Linked DNA regions of Homo sapiens: region 2 is linked to region 1. Evidence: promoter capture Hi-C in 16 types of primary human blood cells and fetal thymus (Javierre and others, 2016). All regions are on one chromosome and are shown on one strand. The core of a region is centred on a gene start or on the middle of the fragment in contact, and the rest is flanking DNA. Distances in the headings are between cores, read along the strand shown. Region 1 holds the start of KRT25 (keratin 25). Region 2 holds the start of KRTAP9-3 (keratin associated protein 9-3).

What was found. The method cuts DNA at HindIII sites, captures the fragments that hold promoters and counts their contacts. A CHiCAGO score of 5 or more calls a contact.
Region 2: a fragment that was not itself captured here is called in contact with the fragment with the promoter of KRT25 in region 1 in 1 of 17 cell types (M1 macrophages); the score reaches 5.8 in M1 macrophages.

Annotation. Positions count from the first base shown.
Region 1 is chr17:40,753,957-40,756,656 of GRCh38, reverse strand. It overlaps KRT25 (keratin 25), which reads left to right and starts at 1,326. Exons shown (of 8, transcript NM_181534.4): 1 at 1,326-1,814; 2 at 2,189-2,271; 3 at 2,641-2,700. The coding sequence starts at 1,386. The HindIII fragment of the contact is 3,727 bases long and covers 1-2,516 here.
Region 2 is chr17:41,231,293-41,233,992 of GRCh38, reverse strand. It overlaps KRTAP9-3 (keratin associated protein 9-3), which reads right to left and starts at 1,544. Exons shown (of 1, transcript NM_031962.3): 1 at 539-1,544. The coding sequence starts at 1,491. The coding sequence ends at 1,012. The HindIII fragment of the contact is 5,484 bases long and covers 1-2,700 here.

The DNA of each region.
Region 1 (2,700 bases), core at 77-2,576:
AATAAGTTCAGGATAACTATTGTACAATATGGTGACTATAGTTAATAACAATAAGAAAGTAGATTTTAAATGTTCTTACCACAAAATAGGTATGTGAGGTAATAGATATGTTAATTAGCTTGATTTGGTCATTACACAATATATTCATATATCAAAAAATCATGTCGTGCACCATAAATATATACAATTTTTATTTCTCATTTTTTTTTTTTTGAGGCAGAGTCTCATTCTGTCACTCTGGCTGGAGTGCAGTGACACAATCTTAGCTCACTGTAACCTCTGCCTCCCAGGTTCAATTGATTCTCTTGCCTCAGCCTCCCGAGTAGCTGGGATTACAGGCACCTCGCCATGATGCCTGGCTAATTTTTGTATTTTTAGTAGAGATGGGGTTTCACCATGTTGGTGAGGCTGGTCTCAAATGCCTGACCTCAAGTGATCCACCTGCCTCAGCCTCCCAAAGTGCTAGGATTACAGGCGTAAGCCACTGTGCCTGGCCTTATTTGTCAATTTTTTATATTTCCATAATAGGTAGAGTTTTCAGTAAATATATGTGAATTCCCACCGACTAAATACCTTACTGATGACTTTCATCTGAGCTAAACCACAATAAATTAAGACAGAAAAAATAGTTCCTACCAGGTTTGCTTCAGATTTTGCAGGGTCAGGAAATAAGTTAATGTCTTTCCAAACTCCCACAAAACATAACACCAATTAGGGGTGTGCTCCTAATTACCAAAATGGATAAGGTAAGACAACTCTCCTCAGTCATAAGTGTCAACAGAATATGATGCTCATGTCAGCCAGAATGGAAGTTAACTTCCCATGGGAAAGAGTGGCAAGAGGAATTTAAAAATAAAAACAAAAACCTATTGGTTGAAGAACCAGGTTGGGGAAATGATTACAGTTCTATTCTCTACTTATGTGGAAAAACTTGTGAAAATAAAAGCAGAAAAAGCCTCAGAAACATCACAATCTGCCTTGGCATAATAGCCCAAAACCATGATGCTAAATTTCTATCCTGTAATGAGCTGATGAGGTTTACTTCCAAGGATGGAAGTGAAGAATGACTCACTCAGCATTTAAAAACGTAATAATGAACCTGACATTGCTCCACCCAGACCCATTTCTCAGATAACCACCAACCTGAGGGCAACTGCCCTCCTACAGGAATGAGCCCAGCAAAGTGAGTTACTAATTAGAAAAAATCACCCAATTATGCCAACTTGCTGAGACTGGCAAGCCATGTTTTACTCTGTGTAGGCAGAATTTCATTCAGAACACACTTGGGACTTGCCTATAAAAAGGCAAACCAAACCTTTTAGACAAGAAGGCACTCCATTCTGGCTTTCACAAATACAGCTCTGCAACGCGTTTGCCCTGATACCATGTCTCTTCGACTTTCCAGTGCATCCAGGAGGTCCTGTCCTCGTCCCACCACTGGATCACTCAGACTCTATGGTGGGGGAACCAGCTTTGGTACTGGAAATTCTTGTGGCATTTCAGGGATTGGAAGTGGCTTCTCTAGTGCCTTCGGAGGCAGCTCATCGGGAGGAAACACAGGGGGAGGTAATCCCTGTGCTGGCTTCACTGTGAATGAGCGGGGGCTCCTTTCTGGCAATGAGAAGGTGACCATGCAGAACCTCAATGACCGCCTGGCATCCTACCTGGACAGTGTGCATGCTCTGGAGGAGGCCAACGCTGACCTGGAGCAGAAGATCAAGGGCTGGTATGAGAAATTTGGGCCTGGCTCTTGCCGTGGTCTTGATCATGACTATAGCAGATATTTCCCAATAATTGATGACCTTAAAAATCAGGTAAGAAATCATACTGCACAATCATTTTCATGTACCTTTATTTCTAAATTTTGTTTTCCTTTCTTTATTAAATTCTAAAAACATTTATCATTCCTACTTGTGATTTTTTTTTTTTTTTTTTTTTGAGAAGGAGTTTTGCTCTTGTTGCCCAGGCTGGAGTGCAACCGTGGGATCTTGGCTCACTGCAACCTCCACCTCCTGGGTTCAAGAGATTCTCCTGCCTCAGCCTCCCAAGTAGCTGGGATTACAGGTGCCTGCCACCATGCCCTCCTACTTGTGATTTCTTAAAGAGAATTCCAATTTAGCATTAGAAATAAGCATTAAGTAGATTCAGTTGGTTTACTTCATGATAAAAGTCAAATTCCCATTTCTAGATCATCGCATCCACCACCAGCAATGCTAATGCTGTTCTGCAGATCGATAATGCCAGGCTTACAGCTGATGATTTCAGACTCAAGTAAGTAGACTGCCAGAGTGAAATGAATTCATGGCAATTCATGCAACGCATTACATCAAATTTAGCAACTCTTATTCCAAAATTATAAAACACTTGAATTTCACATAAACAGGATGTTATTACTTTTTTATGCTTTGACTATTAAATACAAAGCATGAACTGCTATTAAAACTAGCGCCCAATACCCTAGTTCTTTTTCTGTCAAATACTGCAAAGTAGAAACAATAATTATTATACAACAAGCTTTGAAAATGCCTCTTGTGGCCAAATCTTCAAAATTCCAGAATGCTAGCATTTGTCATTGATCAGTGACTAGTGACTATGTCTCCAACCATGTGACAAATTAGGAAATCATTAACACTCTTTAAGGTATGAAAATGAGCTGGCTCTTCACCAGAGTGTAGAGGCTGATGTCAATGGGTTACGAAG
Region 2 (2,700 bases), core at 162-2,661, 480 kb before region 1:
GAATAAGTTTCTTCAGATGAGGCTCCGTCTCCTGAGTCCACAATAAATTCTCAAGCATTTTTTGATGCAGATGAATTGAATGAATGGCTGGTCAGAGGCTCAGACAAAAAGATCTCTGCATTCAGGGCAGCCATTAAATGCATATCATGCAGCCTTTGCTCACTGAGGTGTGGGGAACTACTTTGGGATTTTTTTGTGTGTGAACAAAAGTGTTATCTGCAAATATGTCAGATTATTCCTCTCATTGTTAAATAAACTCAAGTACATGTCTTGCTAGTGCTGACTTCCAGTGTCTTTTCTACTATATTGGGAGTTAAACGTAAGTGTCCTTGGGCAGAAAGAGAGGACCTCACCTTTGACCAGAGTCTGCCCTTTACTAGCTACATAACATCACACATTAAATTGTTCTCAGCTGAAAAAATGGAGTTAATAATACACGACCATCTGTTTTGAGAATCAAATTGGATAATACCTATGGTATGTGATATGTGTGTAAATCCCATATCAGGAATGCTTTCAAATAAAACAAAACACTATATGAGATGAAGATGGTTCAGAGTTTATTCAGAAACATATAGGTAAGAATCTCTGCTACCAGAGACATAACCCAAAGTTATCGTGAAAAGAAGAAAGAAGGATACAAGAACCATGAGAAGGATATTTAAAATGAAAATATAATTGCAAAGATGATTGATCAGTTGCAGAAACCTAAATTCCTTAGAAGCAAAGAATGAAGCTCTTGATTTTTGAGACAAAGCTGAGATCATGACTCCAAATTAAGAACAGACGAAGCTGGCACATGATCCACAAGGTGTAAGGAAAGAGGGAATGAGGATGAAGTATTCTGCCCTCCCTCAAGCAGATTCCCAAGATTTTAAACATGTAGAGAATTCATAAAAATTTGGGTGAGAGCATGGTGGCTGTCAGCAGCAAAGTAAATTAGTCCCTCAAAAGACAAGTCAGTTGAGCTGAAGGTTGTTGTGTGAGGATGGTAGTTCTCTTGGGAGTTGATTAGCAGCAAGAAGGCTGGCAGCAGCTGTACACACAGGTGGGCTGGAAACAAGTGGTCCTGCAGCAGGTGGTCTCACAGCAGGCTGGGCGGCAGCAGGGCTGGCAGCAGTTGGAGCCACAGCTCTGGTTTAGGCAACCAGGCAGACAAACACTTGTGGGGTGGTAGCAGGTTCTTCTGCAGTACACAGGTGCACAGGAGCTGCTCTGACCACAGCTGGACCCACAGCATGTGGGCTGGCAGCAGGGTGTGCTACAGCAGGAAGGCTGGCAGCAGCTGGTCACACAGATGGGCTGGCAGCAGGTGGTCCTACAGCAGGTGTTTTGACAGCAAGTTGGGTGGCAGCAAGGCTGGCAGCAGCTGGAAACACAGCAGGAGGGCTGACAGCAGGGTGTGCTGCTGCAGGTGGTCACAGTGGTGGGCTGCCAGCAGGTGGTCCTGCAGCAGGTAGGCTGACAGCAAGGGGAGCAACAGTGGGTCATGGTGTCAGGGATGGAGGGTGGGCTTCTGTTAAGAGGTGAGTTTCCCAAAATCTGATGACCCCTTGCAATCTGGACCTTTTATACACCTGGCCTCCAAAGTTTCCACCAATCAGCAGGACTTTTCCTTGTTGCTGTTTACATTGTTTTCCACAGTCCATTTGGGATTGTCAAAGGGGAAGTTGTTACTGAAATCTTATGAACCTTTTAAACTAAGGGTTTAATCTGTTTCTTAATTGTGAGTTACTCATAGAAAGTTTGTTTCAGATAAAAGGAAGCCCGTCTCATCATCAGCATCATTCCTGCTCTGACCATCATCTGGTCATGTGACAGTTCCTGTTGATCCGGGGGGCTCAGGAAGTTCTCTCTGGCCAGCCTCATGTTTGGCTGTATATAGACTTGGAAGTGTCTGTGGGGAGAAGCATGATGCTGATATATTTACAGTGACAAAATGAATCCATGCCTGGGCCCAAGACTATTCACCCACCAAATTCTGACTCAAGACTAACAGGCATCTCTTTGTGCCACCCACATCATCTGTGTCTTTCAGTTCTTTGAATGTCACTTGGGAAGACGGTGACTGCACAGTGTGTTCCATGCGACAGAGCAGATCGAGAACAGGTGGATGCAGAGAAATCTGCTGAGATTTAGACAGCATCAAGCAATGTATGCCCTAGGACGACCATTCATTCTGACTTGTCTGGGAGTGTGGGGATTTCCGGGATGAGAATGGAGGACTTTCTATCACGTAACTTCTTGAGATTCAGGCCAACCAGCATGTGCTCTGGCTCTAGCCCTAAACCTAGTTACTAGCAGTAACTAGAAGTAAGCGTTGAAATTCAGGCCAACCAGCATGTGCTGTGGCTCTAGCCCTAAACCTAGTTACTAGCAGTAACTAGAAGAAGAAGTAAGTAGAAGTAATTTCTTCTATTTCTTTTCAATGAAGGGATTAGATGAGTTGAGATGACACCTGATTCATCGTGGAGTTCTAACATGTTGAAAACATTGTCTAGGTATATCATTCACTTGAGAAGAATGCAAATTATTAATTTCCAACCTGATATAGTATTACATTGTAAATACATCTATGTCCCCATTACCAGGTTAGGAAATAGAAATTAATGCCATTCTCTCCCAATTATATCCGCTTACTCATTTCCAAACAGCTAATCACTCTATCAAGTTATAATCCAGTAGATGACTTTGGCTTTT